Linked DNA regions of Homo sapiens: all the other regions are linked to region 1. Evidence: promoter capture Hi-C in 16 types of primary human blood cells and fetal thymus (Javierre and others, 2016). All regions are on one chromosome and are shown on one strand. Each heading gives the region's core, a stretch centred on a gene start or on the middle of the fragment in contact. The rest is flanking DNA. Distances are from core to core; before and after follow the strand shown.

What was found. The method cuts DNA at HindIII sites, captures the fragments that hold promoters and counts their contacts. A CHiCAGO score of 5 or more calls a contact.
Region 2: a contact is called between a fragment that was not itself captured here and the fragment with the promoter of ACSM4 in region 1, in 1 of 17 cell types (megakaryocytes). The highest score is 5.3, in megakaryocytes.
Region 3: a fragment that was not itself captured here is called in contact with the fragment with the promoter of ACSM4 in region 1 in 4 of 17 cell types (M1 macrophages, erythroblasts, M2 macrophages and 1 more); the score reaches 7.1 in M1 macrophages.
Region 4: a contact is called between a fragment that was not itself captured here and the fragment with the promoter of ACSM4 in region 1, in 1 of 17 cell types (M2 macrophages). The highest score is 5.4, in M2 macrophages.

The regions. Positions count from the first base shown.
Region 1 is chr12:7,301,509-7,307,468 of GRCh38, reverse strand. ACSM4 (acyl-CoA synthetase medium chain family member 4) reads right to left here and starts at 3,397. Exons shown (of 13, transcript NM_001080454.2): 1 at 2,937-3,397; 2 at 726-936. The coding sequence starts at 3,137. The HindIII fragment of the contact is 4,163 bases long and covers 501-4,663 here.
Region 2 is chr12:7,487,158-7,493,117 of GRCh38, reverse strand. It overlaps CD163 (CD163 molecule), which reads left to right. Exons shown (of 17, transcript NM_203416.4): 7 at 5,031-5,345; 8 at 5,445-5,759. Among named protein-coding and RNA genes, the nearest start is that of CD163, 14 kb to the left of the region's middle. The HindIII fragment of the contact is 1,814 bases long and covers 1,445-3,258 here.
Region 3 is chr12:7,453,777-7,459,736 of GRCh38, reverse strand. No RefSeq gene overlaps it. Among named protein-coding and RNA genes, the nearest start is that of CD163L1, 13 kb to the right of the region's middle. The HindIII fragment of the contact is 1,339 bases long and covers 2,738-4,076 here.
Region 4 is chr12:7,428,295-7,434,254 of GRCh38, reverse strand. It overlaps CD163L1 (CD163 molecule like 1), which reads left to right. Exons shown (of 20, transcript NM_174941.6): 3 at 561-881; 4 at 1,519-1,839. Among named protein-coding and RNA genes, the nearest start is that of CD163L1, 13 kb to the left of the region's middle. The HindIII fragment of the contact is 1,992 bases long and covers 407-2,398 here.

The sequences.
Region 1 (5,960 bases), core at 2,148-4,647:
TTAGGGAGAATCCAAATATATTCAGAGAAGTTATCTGGATCATCTGGATGAACATGTCCTAGATAATCTAGCACTGCAAAGAGATGTTGGTACCCAAATTTGCTTTTATAGAGCTTTGTTTTTAAATCCCAATTGCATAGCTTTCTAGCTGTGACTGAATAGAATAGCTTTCTAATTGTGATTTTTGGCAAGCTTTTGTTTGTTTGTTTGTTTTTGAGACAGAGTCCTGCACTGTTGCCCAGGCTGGAGTGCAATGGCAAGATCTCAGCTCACTGAAACCTCCACCTCCCGGGTTCACGCGATTCTCCTGCCTCAGCCTCCCGAGTAGCTGGGATTACAGGCACACACCACCACAACTGGGTAATTTTTTGTGTTTTTAGTAGAGACGGGGTTTCAGTATGTTGGCCAGACTGGTCTGGAACTCCTGACTTCGTGATCCACCTGCTTCGTTCTCCCAAAGTACTGGGCTTACAGGCGTGAGCCACCACGCCCGGCAAGCTTCTTAACCTGAGCCTTGGTTTCCTCTTCTGCAAAATGGTTATCACACTAATACCTCCCTCTTGGTGTTATTGTTATTATTATATCATGATTGCCTTAACTCTTCTTTTTTTTTTTTTTTTTGTCTTCTGTATGCATACTTTTAATCAGAGCTAACAATTCAGAAAACCATTGAGTTTCAGTCTCTCTGTGTTTGTGTGATTTAGAATGCTAATATTGGCACTGACCTGTTCGTATGCAAGCTACATTGACCAGCCACCACTCAGGGATTCTGGGCAGAATCACGGCCAAACGGTCTCCTCTCTGCAGGCCACAGGGCTTGGTGAGCACGTTGGCAGCTTTTCGGGACAAGGAGCCCAGTTCTCTGAAGCTCCATTTTACCTCATCCCCTTTGCCATTCACCCACCACAGGGCTGGGTTAGCTGGTCTCTCCCCTGTCTGACCAGGGACACATGGAAAAGAGAGGGGTAGGTTTACATGACTGATTACTCTTACATGCGGCATCTGCTGTTTTCCCCCTTTGGCACTGGTTCTGGTGCATTCTGCTAACAGCGCCCTGAGTTCGTCTTTGAGGGAACTGCCCCTCTCCTATTGAACACAGCCTTGAAAAGAGAATCCCTCAGGTTGCTTTTACCCTTCCCCGAGCAGTAGGTGGGCATTTGACCAAAGTTGGGCCAATCAGACCTTCTCTCTCTGGACTTTTTGGTTTTCTGAGAGAAATCAAAAGATAGAAAATGGTTGGTACAAAACTTGTCTATGGGTTATTCGTGCTTACGCATGCTCAGAGAGCTGTCCTGATTCCTGTCCTCATTGAGATGGACTCTCCAGCTTCCAGCCCAATTTTGTGAGCTCTCCCATATTCCTTGAATAAATTTCTTTCTTGCTTAAATTAGATTCTTTCCCATCCAAATAACCTGAATGGATCTGCTAAGTTTGACTGGGAAGCAGACATCTCTTTGTACCCTAAGGCTGAGGTGTGGTTTTCACAAGTCACAAGGAGCAGGGTCGAGGGAGGCATCAATTTATTGACTTCTAGAGGTAACTTCTTCCCCATCATTCTATAAAGTGAGTCATCTGTACTGCAAAACCTCTTTGCCTTATGTATTACCTGGAAAAAAATTACTCTCCCTTCTTTCCCCTATCTGGAATGCTTCTTTTATCTTCTCTGGCTGGCAAATACTTTAAAGCCCTGTTGACATGTCAGTTCGTCTGTGAGCTTTTCTTAGACTTCTCTTTGTTTCTCCACTAACTTCTCTGTGTTCCTTCATCGTTGTGCTCATACTCCAGATGACTCCAATTTATTATATGACAGATGTGTCTCTTCCCTGTGGATGTAACCTCTGTAAAGATCAGGGACTGGGTTTATGTTCTGTTGGACCTGTGTGGCCTTGGATAAGTAGCTTAGCTTCTATGAGGTCAAGTTCCTCATCTGCAAACCTCCCAGGTTGTTATGGGGATTTGGTGAAATAATATAGGTCAGTATTTCTCAATCTTTAGTCATTTAAGTCTCATTGTTTCTGTCAGCTCTGCCTGCACCTGCACTATTCTTCTTTATTTTGTATACTTCGCTACATGGACTCACTTTTTACTTTTTACGTGTATACATTTACTTAAGAAGGAATATATATTTAATCAGCACCATTATTGGACAATTATTACCACTTGCCAAAAAATAGGTTATTGAAAAATAAATATGCTGAAAACAAAACTATGCCATTAAATTTTATCTAGAGATGATTAGCTTCTACCTGTGGTCTTTATTCAAGAGAGTGTTTAGCAAATGATAGGTGCTAAAGACACAATGGCTTTCAAGGAAGGCTTTCCCCCTGTATTTAACAGGAAGAATTGATTCAATGTTATTTAATACCTTGTCTGTCTAGTACCTAACATCATGTTCCCATCCATGGTCCTGCAGTGCATTTTGATAAGCACTGCTTGGTTAAGTGTTTAGCTCAGTGCCTGGCATGGGGTGAGGATCAGTACACAGAGACCTCATCCTGAGGCTGCACTGTAAACATTGCATAAGGGCCGCTTGCTTTATTCTTGTCAACCTCCAATTCTCTCCTCATTACTCCAATGATAACTGTATTCATAAAATCAAAACTCAATTTGCTACTTTTTCGATAAGCCTGTGACCAACTTGAAAACAAAGCACTGTTGCATGGGGCTTGGAGAAAAGAGAAGGAAAAGAGGCAGAACTCTGTGAGGAACGACCATGGGGATGGGAGATAGAGAAGGCTCCAGAGCCGCCCAGCCATTTGTGGCTGAGGATCTAAGATCTTCCCTGGGGAGAGGGGAGGGCAATTGGAAAACAAACAAAGGAAACCAAGAGGGTGAGAGAGTGCATTGGAATTAAGTGGTAGACCACAGAACAAGGAAATGGAAGACTGAGAGATAAGGGGACACCAAGCATCTACTGGAAGCCCATCGTCATATACCTTCTCCTTTTGGGACCACTGGTCCAGCACATCTGCAGCAAAGTTAAAGTTTTTAGGCAATGGCCTGTTACAGCGATTTATGGCTTCAAAGTCAGCAAGAGTCAGAGGCGTCCAAAGCTGGTGATCTTTGTGTAAGCGCCGGCCAGGTGGCTTGGTGAGCCAGATGAATCTAAATGTCTGGTAGCGGAAAAAAATCTTCATGGTTCCCAAAGGACTTTGTCTACTGCTATGGACACAGAAGTACTACAGCCTGTAGGGAGAGATGGATAGAGAGTATCAGTTTCTTGATGCTCTGTGGTGAGACTGGGAGGTGGATTTGTGGCTGTGTGTCCCTGGCAAGTTGGGGAACACCTGAAAAACACCTCATCCTTCCTCAGAGCTGCTGCCTTAGCCACTGACTGGTCTCCCTGCCACTGGACCCTTCCTCTTCATTCTGTCTGTGACCAGATGAGTCTAAAAAAACCCCTTAACTACAGAATTGTCAGACTCCTGTCTTCTGTTCCTGTCTTCTCCCCAACCAAACAACAGACAAATAGAAACTTCGCTGTCTGGACTGGCATTCAGAGCCTCCTTTCGCCTGCTTTATACACTGTTCTGTGTCTGCTAACTCCTCTACTTGAATTTCCTCTTCCAGTAAAGGAGGCCCGTTAACTTGCCATGAATGCCCCACTAAGAGTTGGCCTGTCATTTCCCTGGCTCCTGCTTACCCTGTTCTCCTCTCCCCTTCAACTTCCCATTGTGATTGCTTGGAAACCTGGGTTTAAGTCCTGGTTCAGCCACTTTCCGGCTGTAGGACTTTGGACAAGTTACTTATCTTCCTGCACCTCAATTTTCTCATCTGTAAAATAGGGGAAAATATAGTACCTCCCTCCTACAGTTATTGTGAGGATTTAATAAGATAATGTGTATAAAATGCCTAGCTCGTAAAAGGTGACTTCAAAGTGTTAATTACTACTGTTGTTTTTTTGTTTTTCTGTTTGTTTGTTGTTTATTAAGAAACAAGGTCTTGCTCTTTCACCCAGGTTGGCGCAATCACAGCTTACTGAAGCCTCAAACTCCTAGGCTTAAGCAATCCCCCTGACTAAGCATCCTGAGCATCTAGGACTACAGGGGCCACACCACCATGCCTTGCTAATTTTTTTTTTTTTTTTTTTGTAGAGATATGGCCTCACTATGTCACCCAGGCTGGCTTGCCTCCAACTCCTAGCCTCAAGTAATCTTCCTGCCTTGGCCTCCCAAAGTGCTGGGATTGTAGGTATGAGCCACTGCACCCAGGCAACCACTGCTGTTGTTAAGATTATTTTCCTTAATATTATTGTGGCATAGTTTTATTTTAAAAAATCCTACCATATGAACCAGAAGACTTGGATTTTATTTCTTTTTCAAAAACTGCTTTTAATATTGGTAAAATTGCCTGCTCTTTCTGGACTACCATCTGTAATCTAATTAATTTTTTAAATAATTTTGTGTTTATTTCTTCCCTGGGTTTTCCGTAACATGCATTTATGCTATTCATGTGACAGTTGTCTACTTTGTATTATCAATGATAGTTTTTCATATATGTGCCCTGTCTCCCTACCCAGCCGGTATGGGTTGAGGCTATGTAATGTGTTCTTAGCACTAAGCATGACTCACAGAAGATCTGCAATAATAAAAGGCAGTTTTTAGGTTCTTGATGTAGGCAGGCACTTTGCATTTCTGATGTCATTCAATATTCATGACAAGCTTGTGAGGTTGGTGCTATTATTATCTCTATCTTACAGATGAAGACACTGAGGTTTAAGTACACTTAAGGATCTTATCCAAGGTCATTCAGCTCGAGACAAACCATGTCTTGCCTCTGCCACCATGAGCTCAATGACGCAACCAGAGGCAAGGTTTGAACCTCTCTGGTCTGACTTCAGAACTTAACCTACTCAGCTTCTCTGCTATTTATTCTCCCTTGTGCTGCCTTCTTCGATAAAGGTTTCTTGTTGATGGTGAATGCCTTCACCCTTTTTGCCCTTCAGGCTTGTGTAGTTGTTTTGAATGGAGTGGAAGAATCTGCAAATGTAAAGAGTACCTGAGTCTGCAGCATGGTGATAACAAACAATAGAAAGGAGGGTGCAGGGTGTGCCATCCTTCATTGTTGTTGCCAAGTCCTCTGTGCTGCTCAGAGTGACTTCTGGATAAGTGGCAGGTCCATTTGGTGCAAACACAATTTGCTGTATTTCAAAAATAGCTATTGCTGGCAATACCGTTGGTGTTAAACTCTCTGTTATGCCAAGGTAAAAAAAGAAGAGGGATAGCGCCTTAACTGGGCAATTATCAAGAGTAAAGAAAAGGGAGAAAAGAGAAGCAGAGTGGACCACATTCATGGTTTAGCATTCTGCCAAAAGTGAGACTCTCATCCCTCTCCTAAAACACAGACGTGCACACACACATGCACACACACACACATACCACTTGCACCACACTTGCATCCAAACTTGCTTCTCTGGATGACCTTTGTCAAGTTGCTTAACATCTCCAAGTCTCATTTGCATCTGTGCAATGAGAGTAATAATACCTTCTTCACTAGGTAGTTGCAAGGTTTTAGTGAGTACGTTAGCACAGTGCATGGTTTGTGGCTAGGAATGAATAAATGCTGCATATTAAAAATAAAACCTCAGAAGCATTTGTGACAGAAGACTTCAGCTCTTGATATATAAAGAAACCTAGAAAAGCTGTTGGTTTGGAAGGCCAGATGTAGTGGCTCACACCTATAATCCCAGCATTTTGGGAGGCCGAGGTGGCCAGATCACTTGAGGTCAGGAGTTCGAGACCAGCCTGGCCAACATGGTGAAACCCCATTTCTACTAAAAGTACAAAAATTAGCTGGGCGTGGTGCTGCGTTCCTGTAATCCCAGCTACTCAGAAAGCTGAGGCAGGAGACTTCGCTTGAACGTGGGAGGCAGAGGTTGCAGTGAAACAAGATTGCACCAGTGCACCCCAGCCGGGGTGACAGAGTGAGACTCCGTCTCAAACAACAACAGCAAAGAAAAG
Region 2 (5,960 bases), core at 1,102-3,601, 190 kb before region 1:
GCCCTCAAATTCAACAAAAAAGTTCTTTCCAAGGTTACTAAGCTTCTAGTCTACTTGCTTTATAACCCAATGCCATCTGAAAGTAACTATAGTCCAAGAGCATATAAATATACTTTGATCTATGCTGTGACCAGCCCTTCTCTTTAATTATTGACCACTGCCTTAAGGCCGTTTGAAACTGTGGGTTTGGGAGGAAGGACAAGACCTAAATTCCGTCTTTGCCGGTAGACTCATTGCCTTTGTATCTGGAGTATCAATTTTATCTTCTGACAAGGCTACAGTTTTACCACCACCTCAATTTGGGGGGACAGGATACTTAGAGTTTTTTCTTCAATTCTTCAATTCCAAATTATAGGACTCTTGATTAACAATATACAACACCTGCAGGCAGACCATACCCCCTTATAAAATTGATATTTCTCCTCCCATTTCTGCTTGCATTCTGACTGCTTGTAGTCTGAATTCATCTTTCTTGTAAATGCTAAAAGTGGCAAGGAGAATCCACGTCATGCAAATATTCTGATTTTTTGTAGTTTTGTTTCTTGTACTTTGCCCAATAAATTCTGCATTTTTTAAGCATCAGTGAGCACACGGTTTTCTTTTCAAAGTGAGGCTTACCCAAATATTTTACCATGTGTAAGACTCCTTAGGTTTTTAGCCTCTCACACCTGAGTCATTAATGCATTCTGCCCATCAACTCCATTCAACCACACCCATATTTTAGGTTGCATTACTAGAATACCTTACTTATGGTAACATGTTCTAAATTATTCAGGATTCTATTCAGATGTGTATAATAGAAATCATGAATAACATAAATTTGCAACTTAAGGTGGGCTCCGTACTTCACAGAGCTGTATTTTTGTTTGCTATTTGCCATGTGCACTTTTTGTTTCCTTTTACAAACTCTTTTGTTATATTGCTGTAGGTTTTGGAAGTTCTTCTACTTATGTTGGGGGCCTTGGTTTTTAGCTTTTTACATGTTTTGTTAGTAATATAGTTTGTACTTTTGTTTCTTTATTTACTTGATACTTTCAATGATGACATACTGTCTCTGTCAATGATGATATGCTGTCTCTGTGCCTGCCAAATTCAAGCTACGAATTTGATCATCTGTTTAAATTGTTTAACTTTTATATAGTACAGGGCTATACAGCTTAAAAGAACCAGGAGAATTCAACTAAGCAGGAGAATTGGAAACAATTTAAGATAAATTGTTGACAGAAAAAGGTCTAGGAAATTTTGGCCACAAAATTACTTTGAATCTCAGACATTTTGTTTGTGATGTCTGTGTATGTACTGTAGAGGACATCTGACCTTAAGAAACAGTTCATTTGAGCTATGCTGTCTTTTAACTTAGGATGGAGAAATAATTCTGAGATTATGATGATCTATACTTCTTCAGAGTCTGAAAAGCATTAAATGTTGAAAATACATTAAAGCTTCTTTAAATCATAATTGTATATTTTATTTATCACTAAACAAAAGGAAGTAATTCTAGTTAATTATGTCTCTAATTATGTTAAAGCTCTTTGTAGATCTATTTATTTTTCTAGAAAAAGAAAGAAAAACAGATTCAGTTACTTATGCCAGGGGAAAACTGTAGTTGTTGATCAATGGTGCTAAATCCAGGTGCAAAAATTTACTTAATGGTTTTTATGTAAAAACACAGTCAGAGACTTAGCAGAAAAAAATCCATTAAAGGGATACATTTCCAATATTCTATCCATGTCTAAAGAGTAACGATATAAGCAAAGCGACCCATAGGATAGATTAACATGTTACTAGCAGATTCACGAAATAAAGGCTGAGGATGGAGTCTCCAAGTCACTTTCTGAGTTGGAGAATTTGTCCTCTGCCTTGACTCAAATATGTTAGTACAAAGAAAACAAGAGGATACTTATAGAAGGGACTTTTTCTCAATTGCTTAATGAGTTTTCACAATGGAAAAGAAAATATTTTTGTTTGTTTGTTTGTTTGTTTTTCACTGGTTTTCTTTTGGTTTATTTTGTTCAAGATGGGTCCAAATGAAAGAGTAAGAAGTTACAAGAAACCAGAATTTGGCTTGATCTAGGAGACTGCCTTTACTTAAAGATTTAGGGCTGTCCAAAAGAGGTTGGGATCATATGAATACTAGTTAATGATATCTTAGAGAAATTTCATGCTTGAATAAAGATTCAAAAAGAAGAAATGAAAGACCATCCCACTCAAGGGTCATTAATTATTTGTATTGTAGAGGTGTTATTTGCTTTAAACTCTGAGCTATGTTTAGAAAGCAACATGTTTTTCATTTCAAATTTGGATAGGAATTTGCTTTGCGCAGATTTAATGGATAATGGGTGAAATTTTGACATGTTGAGGTATTCTATATTGCTGTAGTACAGAACATGGTCATATTCGAAACATTTTCTAAGACATTTTTGTATCAGGTGAAAGGTTTATGAGAGATGAAAGGAAATCAGAGTATGTAGATTGGCAAGGGCTGATGGTGTATCTATATCATTGTGATAGTAACATCAAGAGATTACAAAAATTGTTGATATTTGATAGCAGGTATCTATAAAGGACTTAAGACCTTCAGAAGGTCTAATTTTCAACTGCATTTTCTTTATTTCTCTTAAAGAACAAGTTAAAAGAAATAGTTTGTATCTCTTAAGTACTTTATATTGCCTCTGAGTATTTTCAAAGAAACTCACTTATCTTGATGATTGTGTTTCTTAACTTGACAAAGAGCATCTTCATAATATAAATTCCATTTATTATTTCTGGTGTGTCTTTTCTTTATATTTTAAATTTCAGCTACAGTAAGTTACTTATAATTCTTCAATGACACCATGCATTTCGTGACCATATTCCTTAAAGATTGTTTCACACACTGTGTATTTGGCAAACTCCTCATCTTTTTTCAAGATCCAGTTTAGATCTATGTTATTCTCTCCCCCATAGTCTAAAACAGAGTGAATGACTCCTTTATTTGTTAGTTTTATGTCTAATACATATTTCTATTTTTGGGTTCATCACTATTAAAATATGTATATCTTGTAGTGAACTGTGTTCATGGAGGAGAAGGCTATTAGTGAGAAATTGAACAGCCTTGAAAAGAAGTAGCCTTTTCCTAGGTATATAAGGTAGGGAAATAAATTTTAAGTAGAGAGAAAAGTTTCTACAGAGGCACAGAAGCATGAAAATTACGGCATGCCCAAGCATCTTTAGGCTGGAGCATCAAATTAGGTTGATAAAGTAATAGATATTAAAGCTTTTAAGGTAACAGCATACTATTTTAAAGTGTACTAAAGAATTAGTGTTTATCACCTCTCCTTAATTTTAATAGCTGGACGAAATTAGGGAATCTATGAAAACTGTTTGTGCTGCAGTTTGCTCAGAAGAAAAATGGGAGTGGTAATAGGGCCTACCTCACAGGAATTACACAGTGAGCTATAAATACATGTTAGCTAATATGATTATGATTATTATTTTTAGTATTATCTATCTTCACTGACAGACTGAATTCTGTGGCGGCCTTTTTAACCCACCCATCATCAAATGCCTAAAATAGAGTCAGAGAACATTACAGGTTGTTACATTATAGGTCATTACATTGATACTTTTGGATTAATTATTGCATACATGATTATTACAGAAATTATAAGAAATTATGTAAGGGATCATTGCATACATTTTAAGGAAACGTTAAGTCATCTAAAGGAAAAACATCACATGAAAATATTTGAAATTTATTAATATATTTATAATCATGGCATAAATTTCTTGGAAAAAAGACTTTGAAGCAAGGAAACAATTTACGAAGCTATTGTAGAGGTCTGCATGACAGATGATGACAAATCACTTTATGGCAATAGCAACAAATATGCAGAAGAAGAAATATGCTGGAGGACCAACAGATATGGTGGTTTTCTACATGTTCAATGTATCATGAAAGTCAACATTCTAGGCTCTGGAATATACTGTCTGGCTTCAAATTCTGTTCTCTTACTAATTCTGTAGTAATTTCTTGTGTGACCTTAGCAAATTACTACACCTCACCTCTCTATGTTTCAGATTCCCTGTCTGTAAAATCAGAATGATATTAACAATTATCTCCTAAGGCAATTTTAAGGATTGAATGAAATAATGTTTGTTAAATGCTTATTGGAATGCCATATATGTAATATAATAGACGCTCACTTAATATTCACTGCTATCATTATTACCATTATTTGTGGTGAGATAAAGTGGGTCAATTTTAGGTGGTTCTAATTTGGCCTGTATATCATTAATTAAGTAAAGAATATAGTGGGCTTGTCATACAATAATTCATTCAACTTTGAATACTTTAAGCTCCACATGTCTAAGCAGATACGTTTGTGGATCTAAAATTAAAGAAAAAAGTATGGATGAAAATATATTTATTAGCAGTTGAGACATGTCCATTGAGCAGATGAGAAGGTTACGGACAGAACTTTGACTCAAGGAATACACGAAATGTTTTGATAAAGCACTGTCAGAAAGAATGGAGGAGAAAATGGGACAAGAAGGGTCACGTATACCAAACGTAACAGACGTCAAAAGGAAGAAGTCTGATGTTCATTCTGAAAATTAGAAGTATATTGAAAAGCTTTACATAGAACAATTCAAAAAGGTTGAGCAGACCCCAGATTGCAGTACATGGAGGAATGAGTGCAAGACTAAGAGATAGCGATAGTAGATACACATTGTTTGTGGTCTCTAATGTTATTATGAATAAAGTAAGCAAAATTTTGGAAGAACAGAGTTATCATTGCCTTTGGGGATGGTTGGCTGCACAAGGTGAAGTCCCAGAATTCTCTCAGATGGATGAGTTCAGCTAGGAATGGGGAGGTCTAGATTTATCCATACCCAACTCGAGGCAGAAAAGCCAAGACAAACAAGTGTAGGAAATCACTGAGCACCCTGGTCTCCATTTCCCACTCCACACCACCTTCTTCACCCTCATCATGAATGGAAATCTGGAAATCATATTACCTCTCACTGAAATAATATTTATTTTTCAGCCCACAGGGAACCCAGACTGGTTGGAGGGGACATTCCCTGTTCTGGACGTGTTGAAGTGAAGCATGGTGACACGTGGGGCTCCATCTGTGATTCGGACTTCTCTCTGGAAGCTGCCAGCGTTCTATGCAGGGAATTACAGTGTGGCACAGTTGTCTCTATCCTGGGGGGAGCTCACTTTGGAGAGGGAAATGGACAGATCTGGGCTGAAGAATTCCAGTGTGAGGGACATGAGTCCCATCTTTCACTCTGCCCAGTAGCACCCCGCCCAGAAGGAACTTGTAGCCACAGCAGGGATGTTGGAGTAGTCTGCTCAAGTAAGACCCAGAAAACATCTTTAATTGGTTCTCATACTGTGAAAGGGACAGGGTTAGGGAGTCATAGCTGTCTTTTTCTAAAGCCCTGTCTCCTTCCAGGATACACAGAAATTCGCTTGGTGAATGGCAAGACCCCGTGTGAGGGCAGAGTGGAGCTCAAAACGCTTGGTGCCTGGGGATCCCTCTGTAACTCTCACTGGGACATAGAAGATGCCCATGTTCTTTGCCAGCAGCTTAAATGTGGAGTTGCCCTTTCTACCCCAGGAGGAGCACGTTTTGGAAAAGGAAATGGTCAGATCTGGAGGCATATGTTTCACTGCACTGGGACTGAGCAGCACATGGGAGATTGTCCTGTAACTGCTCTAGGTGCTTCATTATGTCCTTCAGAGCAAGTGGCCTCTGTAATCTGCTCAGGTAAGAGGATGACGGGCAGCCAGTGATGGGTCTTAAGAGAAGGTGTACATAGGGATGAAGAACAAAAGTAAAACGCAGTGATCCATTTTGAAGGGTCATGAGAAGAATGAATACTAATTCATGCTTCAGAATATTAACCTCATTTGTCTTTTCAGAGGGTGAGCAAACCTAATTTTGATGGACTTCTTAGTTATCCAGTGC
Region 3 (5,960 bases), core at 2,158-4,657, 150 kb before region 1:
GACCTCTCACCTGTTTGTTCTGTTTTGTTTGTTCTTATAAATGTGCTTTCTTGCTTGGATATTTGTTCAATTTAGTGTTCCTGCAGGGGCACAATTGCTGGAGGGTTCTGTTTGGCCATATCTCCACCTCCAACCATTAAAGTCTTTAATCCATTTTGAGTTTATTTTTGTATATGGTGTTAGGTAAGGGTCACATTTCATGATTCTTGTGGATATCCAGGTTCCCCAAAACTATTTAATACAGAGACTATTCTTTCTCCATTGTGTGTTCTTGGCACCTTTATAAAAAGTAAATTGACCATATTTCTTGGCTCTCTGTCCTGTTCCTCTGACCAACGTGTCTGTTTTTATGCCAGAACCACTCTGTTTTAATTACTATAGCTTTGTGATCAATTTTGATGTTAGGTACTATGATGCCTTTAGCTTTTTTATTTTTGCTCATGATTGCTTTGGCTATTGGAGGTCTTTTGTGGTTCCATTCAAATTTTAGAATTGTTTCTATTTCTGTGAAATTTTGATGGGATCACATTGAGTCTGAAGATTGCTCTGGGTAATATGGATACTTTAACGATATTAGTTCTTCCAACCTATGAACACTTGATAACTCTGCATTTATTTAAGTTGTCTACAATTTTTCATCAATGTTATTGTTTTCCATATATCGATTTTTCACATCCTTGATTAAAGTTACTCTTCATTATTTTGTTTATGGCATTGTGAATGGGGTTGGTTTCTTAATTTCTTTTTCTTTCTTTTTTTTTTTTTTTTGAGACAGAGTCTCATTCTGTTGCCCAGGCTGGAGTGCAGTGGCGTGATCTTGGCTTACTGCAACCCTCGCCTCCCAGGTTCAATCAGTTCTCTTGCCTCAGCCTCCTGAGTAGCTGGGATTACAGCTACACGCCACTACGCCCGGCCAATTTTTGTATTTTTAGTAGAGATGGGGTTTCGCCATGTTGGTCAGGCTAGTCTCGAACTCCTGACCTCGTGATCCGCCCGCCTCAGCCTCCCAAAGTGCTGGGATTACAGGCGTGAGCCACCACACCCGGCCGATTTCTTTTTCAAATAGTTTGTTGCTTGTGCTGAGAAATGTTACTGATTTTTGTGTACTAATTTTGTACTCTACAAGTTGACTGAATTTATCAATTTGAATAGTTTTTGGTGGATTTTTGTTTTTTTTGAGATAGAGTCTCACTCTGTTGCCCCGCTTGGAGTGCAGTGGTGAGATCTCAGCTCATTGCAACCTCCGCCTCACAGGCTCAAGCGATTTCTCATGCCTCAGCCTCTGGAGTAGCTGGGATTACAGGCATGCGCCACCACACCCAGCTAATTTTTGTAATTTTAGCTGAGACAGGGTTTCACCATGTTGCCCAGGCTAGTTTTGAACTCCTGGCCTCAAGCAATCCTCCCATCTCGGCTTCCCAAAGTGCTGAGATTACAGCGTGAGCCACTGCGCCTGGCCCTTTTTAGGATGTTCTATATGTAAGATAATGTCATCGGCAAACAGAAACAGTTTTACTTTTTTTCTATTTGGATGCTATTTATTTCTCTTGTCTCATTGCTCTGGCTAGACTTCCATAACTATCTTGAATAAATGTGGTGAGAGTGAACATCCTTGTATTCCTGATCTTAGAGGAAAAACTTTCAACTTTTTACCATTGAAAACACGATGATGTTACATGTAGGGTTTTCATATGTGGCCTTTATTGTGTTGAAGTACATTTTTTAATATCTAATTTACTAATAGTTCTTCTCATGAAAAAATATTGTTTGTCAAATGATTTTACTGCATCTATTGAGGTGATCATATAGTTTTTGTCTTTCATTCTGTTATTATCATGTATCACATTTGTTGACATGATATGTTCAACCATCCTTGCATCCCAGGGATAAACCCCATTTAATCATCGTGAATGATCCTATTAATGTGTTGTATTCAGTTGCTAGTATTTTGTTGAGGATATTTGCATCTATGTTCATCAGAGATATTGGCCTGTAATTTTCTTTTCTTATAGGGTTTTGTTTTTTGTTTTTTGTTTTTTGTTTTGCTTTGCATCAGGGTAATGGCTGACATTGTAAAATGGGTTTGAAAAATTTTCCTCCACTTCCACTTTTTGGAAGAGTCTGAAGAGAAGCGGTGTTAGTTTTCTTCTTCTTTAAATGTTTGGCAGTATTTCACCATGAAGCCCTCTGGTTCTGGAATTTTCATTGACAGAAGATATTTTATTATTAATTCAATTTTCTTACTCATTATTAGTCTGTTCAGTTTTTCTATTTTTTCTTGATTCAGCCTTGATTGGGTTGTACATATCTAGGAATGCATTCATTTCTTCTAGGTTGTCCAATTTTTTGGTATGTAATTGGTTATAGTAGTCTCTTGTGGTCCTTAGTATTTATGGGACATCAGTTGTAATGTCTCCTTTTTCATACCTGATTTTATTTATTTGAGTGTTCTCTCTTTTCTTCTTAGTCTAGGTAAATGTTTGTCAAATTTGTCTATCTTTTTAAAAACCAACTTAATTTTTTCAGTCTTTTGTTTTGCTTTTCTAGTCTGTTTGGTTTACTTCTGCTCTGTTATTTATTCTTTCCTTTTTGTACTTAGCTTTAGGGTTAGTTTGTTTTTCTTTTTCTAGTTCCTTGAGTTATAGCATTAGGTTGCTTATTGGAGATTTTTTTTTATGTAAATGTTTAATGCTGTAAACTTCCCTCGTAGAACTACATTTGTTGCATCCTATAAGCTTTGATATGTTATTTCCATTTTCATTTGTCTCTAAATACTTTTTGATTTACCTTTTAATTTCTTCTTTGACCCATTTGTTGTTCAGAAACATTCGATTAATTTCCATATATTTGTGAATTTTTTCAATGTTTTTGTTACTGATTTCTATTTAATAGTATTATGTTTGGAAAAGAGACTTGATGTAATTTTAGTCTTGCTAAATTTGTTTAGACTTGTTTTGTGACCTAACATGTGATCAATACTGGAGAATGTTCCATGTGTGCTTGATAAAAATATTTATTCTGCTGCTGTTGGATAGAATGCTTTGTATATGTCTATTAAGTGTAGTTTAATCTGATGTTCCCTTATTGATTTTCTGTTTGAATAATTTGACAACTGCTGAAAGTTGAATATTTAAGTCCCCTAATATTTACTGTATTATATTCTATCTCTCCCTTCAGATCTATTAATATTTACTTTATATGTTTAGGTTCTCCTATGTCAGATGCATATAGATTTACAATTGTTATATCCTCTTGATGAATTGACCCCTTTAGCATTATATAATGACCTTCTTTTTTTTCTTCCTTTTAAAGTTTCTTTCTCCTTTTCCTTTTTTTTTTTTTTTTTTGAGCCAGAGTCTGGCTCTGTCGCCCAGGCTGGAGTGCAGTGGCACAATCTCCACTCACTGCAACTTCTGCCTCCTGGGTTCAAGCGATTCTCCTGCCTCAGCCTCCCTAGTAGCTGGAATTACAAGTGCCCACCACTGCGCCTGGCTAATTTTTGTATTTTTAGTAGAGACGGAATTTCGCCATGTTGACCAGGCTGGCCTCAAACTCCTGACCTGAGGTGATCCACCCGCCTCAGCCTCCCAGAGTGTTAGGATTATGGGCATGAGCCACCGCGCCTGCCCCTTTTACACTTTTTAATTTAAAGTTTATTTTGTCTGATATAGGTATAGCTACCTCTGCCCTGTTTTAGTTTCCATTTGCATGGATTAACTTTTCCCAGCATTTCACTCTCATCCTATGTGTGTCCTTAATTTTAAAGTGAGTTGCTCATAGTCAGTGTATAGCTGAGTCCTGTTTTTTAATCTATTCAGCCTGTCTTTTGATTACAGAATTTAATCCATTTACATTCAAAGTAATTATTAATAAGTAAGGTCTTACTACTGCCATTTTGTTAATTATTTGCTGGTTGTTTTGTAGATCTTTTGTTACTTTCTTGCTTGCTGTCTTCGTTTGTCATTATGCTTTGATTTACTCTTTTTAAAAATAGACAGGGGGTCTCACTATGTTGCCCAGGCTGGAATGCAGTAGCTATTTACAGGCGTGATTATAGTACACTATAGCCTCAAGCTTCTAGACTCAAGTGACCCTCCTGCCTTGGCCTCCCAAGTAACTGGAACTACAGTCATGTACCACTGCATTGGTTCTGATTTGTTACTTTTTTTTGGGGGGTATCTACTATGGGATTTTGCTTTGTAATTACCATGAGGCGTATATAAAATACCTAATAGTTATAATAGGATATTTTTAAGCTGACAACAATGTAACTTTGATTGCATAAAAAACAAGATTTTCTGCTGCTCAATGCATTTTATGTTTTTGATGTCATAATTTACATCTTTTTACATTGTGTACCTCTTAACAAATTATTGGAGCTATTATTATTTTATTCATTTTGTCTTTCAACTATCTTACTAAATAAAGATATAAAAAATTTACGGCAGGGCGCAGTGGCTCACGCCTGTAATCCCAGCACTTTGGGAGGCCGAGGTGGGCGGATCACGAGGTCAGGAGATCGAGACCATCCTGGCTAACACGGTGAAACCCCGTCTCTACTAAAAATACAAAAAATTAGCCAGGCGCGGTGGCGGGCGCCTGTAGTCCCAGCTACTCAGGAGGCTGAGGCAGGAGAATTGCATGAACCCGGGAGGTGGAGCTTGCAGTGAGCCGAGATAGAGCCACTGCACTCCAGCCTGGGTGAAAGAGCAAGACTCCGTCTCAAAAAAAAAAAAAAAAAAAAAAAAATTACGTACTAAAGATATAAAAGACATAAAAATTTCATCATTGTTAGAGTATTCTGAATTTGACTATGTACTTACTTTTTATTAGTAAGTTTTACACCTTCATGTCTTCATGTTGCTAATTAGCTTCCCTTTTTTTCAGCTTGAAGAACTTCCATTAGTATTTTTTTAAGACAAGTATAGTGGTCATGAGCTCCCTTAGCTTTTCATTTTCTGGAAAAGTCTACCTCTTTTTCATTTTCAAAAGACAGATTTTCTGGGTAAAATATTCTTGTTTGTTTTTTTCCTTTGGCACTTTGAATATATCATCTCACACACTCCTGCTTTGTACATTTTCTTCTGAGAAGTCCACTGCTCTTCTTATTGGATCTCCCTTGCATTTGGTATGCTTCTTTTCTCTTTCTGCTTTTAGGATTCTCACTTTGTCTTTGACTTTTGACAGTGTGATTATAATAATATGTCTTCTTGGAGTCTTGTCTGCATTAAATCTGATTGGAGACCTTTGTCTTCCCTATACCTGGATATTTATTTTCTAAAATATGTTTTCTGGCCTTTTGTCTCTTTCTTCTCCTTTTTGTAATTATTTAATTTGTATATTTACTCATTCGATATTATCTCATAAGTTTCATAAGTTTTTGTCATTTCTTTTTATTTCTTTTTCTCCTCTGACTGGTTTTGAGTTCACATATATTATACTTTCTTCTGCTGGATCAATTCTGTGGTAGAGGCTCTCTATTGCATTTTTATTTCTTCATTGTATTTATTAGGTCCAGAATTTTTATTAGATTTTTTTCTTTTTTAGAATTTTAACCTTCCTGTTAATTTTTTTTTAATTTTGGTAATTAATTGTTTTCCGAATTATATTGAATTGCTTCTCCGTATTATCTTGTTCACCAAGCTTCTTTAAAACAATTGTTTAGAATTCTTTGTTAGACAGTTCATATATTCATTTCTTTACAGTTGGTGTCTTAGTCTGTTTTGTGTTGCTATAAAGACATACCTGAGACTGAGTAATTTATAAAGATAAACATTTGTTTGGCTAACAATTCTCATGTCTGGAGAATCCAACAGTGAGCATCTTGTAAGGGCCTCAGGTTGCTTTTACTCATGGCAGAAAGAGAAGGGGATGCCAATGTGTGCCAAGAAAACTTGACAAGATGGAAAGCAAGAGATAGGGTCGAGGTGTCAGGTTCTTTTTAACAAATAGCTCTCACA
Region 4 (5,960 bases), core at 153-2,652, 130 kb before region 1:
ATCATGGACGACTAGGTCTTCTCCTCCTGCAAGGCCTATTGTTGAATGTATTTAAAACATCTGAGGATATAAATACTCAAAAGTATTTAATGCTGTAGATTTTATTGAGTAGAAAATTATTATGTCAACCTTACAAGATGTTTTCAATTATTAAGTATATAAAACATCTCCTTCAAAAATGTGAGGTGGACTCCTCAGATACAGATTATTTTGAAACTGACTAGCCAAGGGACTTTCTTTCATTCTGCGTGCACAACAGCAAACCTTACCTTTTCTGTGGTTTATATTGGTGGGAATTGCATAGAAAGAAAAAATTCTTTCCCTTCTTTTAATTTTCACATTACAATGCAAAGCAAAACTATGCTGCAATGTGGTCTCTAGTTCCCTATCATGAAAAATTAAAGCTTCTCACTTCAAATTTTCTCATTTTTATTTTCTCTCTACTATAAGTTCTAATAACAACATTTAAACTAAATGATCATCATCCATCTCACCTACTTATATTATTTCTGCCTTCTAATCTTTGCCATCTCTAATGTATGTTTCTGTCTTTCTTGCAGATGGAACAGATTTGGAGTTGAGGCTGGTCAATGGAGACGGTCCCTGCTCTGGGACAGTGGAGGTGAAATTCCAGGGACAGTGGGGGACTGTGTGTGATGATGGGTGGAACACTACTGCCTCAACTGTCGTGTGCAAACAGCTTGGATGTCCATTTTCTTTCGCCATGTTTCGTTTTGGACAAGCCGTGACTAGACATGGAAAAATTTGGCTTGATGATGTTTCCTGTTATGGAAATGAGTCAGCTCTCTGGGAATGTCAACACCGGGAATGGGGAAGCCATAACTGTTATCATGGAGAAGATGTTGGTGTGAACTGTTATGGTAAGAGTCTAACTAGAGTAGGAAGGCAAGGTAAGACCTACCCTCAGGAATCATCTGCTGGAAGGTAGGGGTTTCTATTATGACTTTAATAGTGTCCCTCTGGGAGGTGTAGGAAATATTTTATATATTCTACCCTTCCCTTATTTCCAAAGTAATGTCTAATTGCTTTTCTTTTTATAACTATAACTGAGTTTAGAAAGAAATGGAGAGAGAAAGAGAGAGACAGAGAGAGAATGCATTACAGTTACCAATGTAATATCTTTATCATAACTATAATTGAGTTTAGAAAGAAATGAAGAAGTTTGGGAGCAGGGTTAGCTTTGATTTAAGTGCCTTTTTTCATGTACCAGGTACACTAACAGAACAAATATTTTCTGAAAAATGAGGTATAAAATTAAAGCAAAATGATAAAGAATATCATGCTAATGATTGATTTTTTCACCTAGGATTTTTTTTGTTTGTGTATTTGTGTTTAGAAAAAAGCCTCACATACCCCTCCTATAAGTATTTTCAGTTATTTTTTTTTAATTTTTGGTAACTTCATTCATAACAGGGCTGTCTTCTACGTATCCTTTTGATTTTATTTCAGGCTCAAAGTTGAATCAGTTTTTCATATGTCTGCTTGTCTTTCTCGTAGGTGAAGCCAATCTGGGTTTGAGGCTAGTGGATGGAAACAACTCCTGTTCAGGGAGAGTGGAGGTGAAATTCCAAGAAAGGTGGGGAACTATATGTGATGATGGGTGGAACTTGAATACTGCTGCCGTGGTGTGCAGGCAACTAGGATGTCCATCTTCTTTTATTTCTTCTGGAGTTGTTAATAGCCCTGCTGTATTGCGCCCCATTTGGCTGGATGACATTTTATGCCAGGGGAATGAGTTGGCACTCTGGAATTGCAGACATCGTGGATGGGGAAATCATGACTGCAGTCACAATGAGGATGTCACATTAACTTGTTATGGTAAGAACCCAAGACATCATGTAGAAGAAAGGAACAATTTGTTTAGAAACAGTATGTATGGAAAGAAAAAGGTCAATCATTCTCTGGAGAAGAATTTTCTCTGGTTATAACACATTTTTGTTACCCTGAAATTGCTCCATTCTGGAGTTTTCCTAAACACTCTTCCTAAAACTGCTCTTCCTAACAAATCTAAAGCACATTTTGAGTTTTAATATTTCTGATCACTCAGCAGTATTCCATAGGCCGATCAAATCTTTTTTCTAAAAACCTTTTTCAAATAACTTCTTGACACAATATCATATTTTTCCCTTCTTTCTCTGAGGTCACTCATTCTTAGTCTAGTTTCCCCACTTTACTAATTCTTTCCAGCTACCAAAACTTAGATTTCATCAGGACTAAGTCCCTAATCTCACGCTGCCCTCTTTCCTTTGGCAATTTACTTTCCTAGCTTCAACTAAAATTCCACACCAGACACCTCCTAAGAGCTCTAGATACATATATCCGTGTGCTACGAAGGGTCCAAAATGTACCCGAACCTTAATGTTTCCAAAAGTAAGCTTCTTATACCTGTTTACTCATCATCTAATCTTCCTAAGCTCAGTAAATAGCATTATTACCCACTTCATTATTCAAGTCAGAAATAAGGGATCACTTTTTTTTTTATACTTTAAGTTCTAGGGTACAAGTGCACAACATGCAGGTTTGTTACATAGGTATACATGTGCCATGTTGGTTTGCTGCACCCATCAACTCGTCATATGCATAGGTATTTCTCCTAATGTTATCCCTCCCCCAGCCCCCCACCCCCCAACGGGCCCTGGTGTGTGATGTTCCCTGCCCTGTGTCTATGCGTTCTCGTTGTTCAACTAGGGGATCACTTTTAAGTCCTTCATTTCTCTGTTAGCACACTATATTCATTACATCACCAGATGGAAATGATTATACTATTTAAATATTTTAAAATGTGCCTTCTTCATCTTTTTTTTTTGGATGGAGTCTCATTCTGTCACCCAGGCTGTTGCCCAGGCTGGAGTGTAGTGGCATGATCTCGGCTCACTGCAACCTCCACCTCCTGGGTTCGAGCTATTCTTCTGCCTCAGCTTCCTGAGTATCTGGAACTGCAGGCACCCGCAACCACGCCCGGCTACAGTATTTTTAATAGAGGTGGTGTTTCACCATATTGGCCAGGCTGGTCTTGATCTCCTGATCTTGTGATCTGCCCGCCTCAGCCTCCCAAAGTGCAGGGATTACAGCCGTGAGCCACCGCACCCGGCTGAAGAATGCGGCTTCTTTTCACCATTTCCATTACTATCAGTATAAACCAAGCAACAATCACTTACCACCTCTAAGAAGTCACTACGGAAAGCAACGACCTCTCCCCAGTGACCTCTCTGTAGTCATTTCAAACACCTTCAAATCCATTTTCCACAGTGCAGCTGAAGTGATGTTTTTTGCAGCACGTTTAGTTGACTTTATAGTAATATAGGAAATTTCTTATTATCTACGAGATGTTGCTACTCTCTCCTCTTTTCTGCTTGATCTCTGCTGCGTTCTTTCATGTACGTGATATTTTCCAACCCACCTCAGAACATTGAGACATTCTGTTCCTCTAGGTAGAAAAAAACTCTTCCTCCTTCATTTCTCTTGGCTAAATTTGGTTATCCATTAACATCATCTTAAAGAGCATTTCCTCAGGGAAGCCTTCCCCAAATATAAACATATCCTATTCATATGCTATGATGGCACTCTGTCCTCATTCTTCATGTGTTAATAACATTTTAGTTATTTAATTTCCCGCCTTCTCTCAAATATGCTAATACCAGAGGGATGGGAATTATTTTAAACTTATGTATTCCTAACAATTAGCACAGTTTTCAGCAATTTTAGGTGATCTATACATGTTTATGTTTTAACTGGTTAATTTATTAGAAACTCGGAGAGGTGGAAGAGGCATAGAAAATATGATAAATCTTTGTTCTTATTCTTAAAATCCAATTCCTATCATTTTTTTATGTTTGGAATTTCAGGAAGATACAAAGTTCTTTAATTTCTAAGTGATCTGTCTCTTACTGGCTGACAGAGTTCTTACAACAAGTGAATAATCTGAAAGAACTTAAAGTCTTGGAGTAGTTCAAAGTCAGGAAGAGTACTTAGAACCTTCTGTAAAGTCTTCTAATTTCTTCTATTTTTTCTTCTACAAACATCTACAGGTTTGTAAACTCCAATAAATGTTTTGAAATAAAGATACAAATTAGTATCAGATTATTTAATAGGATGACTCACTTAATGTAAGTCTTTAGAATTGGCTTTACTGAAATCTGAGGTGTTAAAAGCAGTTTTTCAATAAACAGTATTTCAAAAGGAGAAACCCAATTCTCCTGAAGTAAGAAAGGACTTGGTGGCCTCCAAGGGTAGAGAAAACACTGGAGTAGCTATAACTTAATGAGGAAGGTTGAGTGATAGTTGATGAAGCTGAGGGCTGGTACTCAGACTGGGGAGCTATGGCAAGAGTTTTAGACTTTATTTTAATAGGCAAGGGTATTCTTTGAAGGGTTTTATGCAGATAATTACCATGATAAAATTTGATTATTAAAATATCATGTGGACTAACTGAATGAAGAATAGCTTTTGAGAGCCAAGCTTGGATGCAGAGACAGAAGTTAAGAAGACCCTGAAGGAGGTCAGGTAAGACATGATAGTGGTTTGACTAGGGCTAAAATAGTTAAGATAGAGATAAGTGGATGGATTGGAGTTATATTTACACAGCAGCTTTGATAGTACCAAGAGAAGTGAAAAAAGAGGTGAGAAAGAAAGAAGGGTAAGAATTTTTCCCAAATTTCTTATGGGTACAGCCTTGTAGCTAGTAGTACCATTTAAAAGAAAGATGCTAAGAGTGTTGGAACATTTTTGAGGGACTTGGAAGATATGTAGGTGGATATTCCCACTGGAAATTCTCAGAAGAAATGTATGAATTAGAGATATAAATTTAGTATCAGCATATCAGTAGTGCTTGAGGCCTTTGCAATTGATAAAATCTTGGGAGATTTTAGAGGAATCTGGACGGATATGTTTTTGTGGTTTACAAATTTTCTATAAAGACAAATCCAAGGAAATTCTTAAAACATTTTTGATTATTTCCAGTAATGCCTACTGAGGTGGACATTTTATTTTTATTTTTAAATGTCATAATAGCCCCTAAGAATTCTATTATTTAACCTAAAATATGTTTTAATTGTTACATGGTTTGAAAAACTTTATGACGAAATGAGGAAGATAAAAGTATTCAGTTACAATTTCAAATTTGAGATAATACCCTTTATTTTACATAGTTTTTTCTTGTTTATTAAACTTTGCTACACATATCTTCTGATTATGTTCAACAATTTTGGCACATAACACAATATTGTATATATAATTACATTTTTAAAAGTCAGTTTTTGTAGAAGAAACTCGGATTAAATAATTTGTTATTTATATTTTTACTTTGGTATTGATGCCTATAGACTAGTTTGATTGGATTACTTAAATCTGCAAACATAATTTATTTATTTCTTCCAGCTACCTGGGATCTGTGAAAGGAACATCAGCAGCAGAATTAGCAAAAGTTAGTTTTATATTTTCACTATGTTTAAGTAACCACAAATGTCCCCAAAAGTGCAAAATAGAGTATCAAATTCTTGCCAAAATTACAGCCAGTTGAAAGCAAGTAGTAATGATGAGCATGGTTTATAGGTATAGAAACAAAAGAGAACAAAGGGAAGTCAAGTCTAGGTTTGATACAGTACAGCTGAATGGGAGAATGAAGAAGTGAGGAACGGGGCTTTAGTCCAGAAGCTGGTAAATCATATCAAAATACTGGCTTACAGTGGGAGAATACTACTCTGAGTGGAGAAAGGAACTAAAGAGATAAGTGATAAGTGACAAAGAGGTGATTTTTCTAGGGCTTTTTCTTGTTGTGTACTAGACACAATGACTGATTCTATGAAAAATAAGAAAAAAGTATGTGTTACATATTTTATCCTCAAGGAACTAGTAATCTACTGGGCAAACGATATGAATACATGCCATCTAAAGAACACTGAAAGTGAATGTATATTTCATACTAAATAGATTCCATTGAC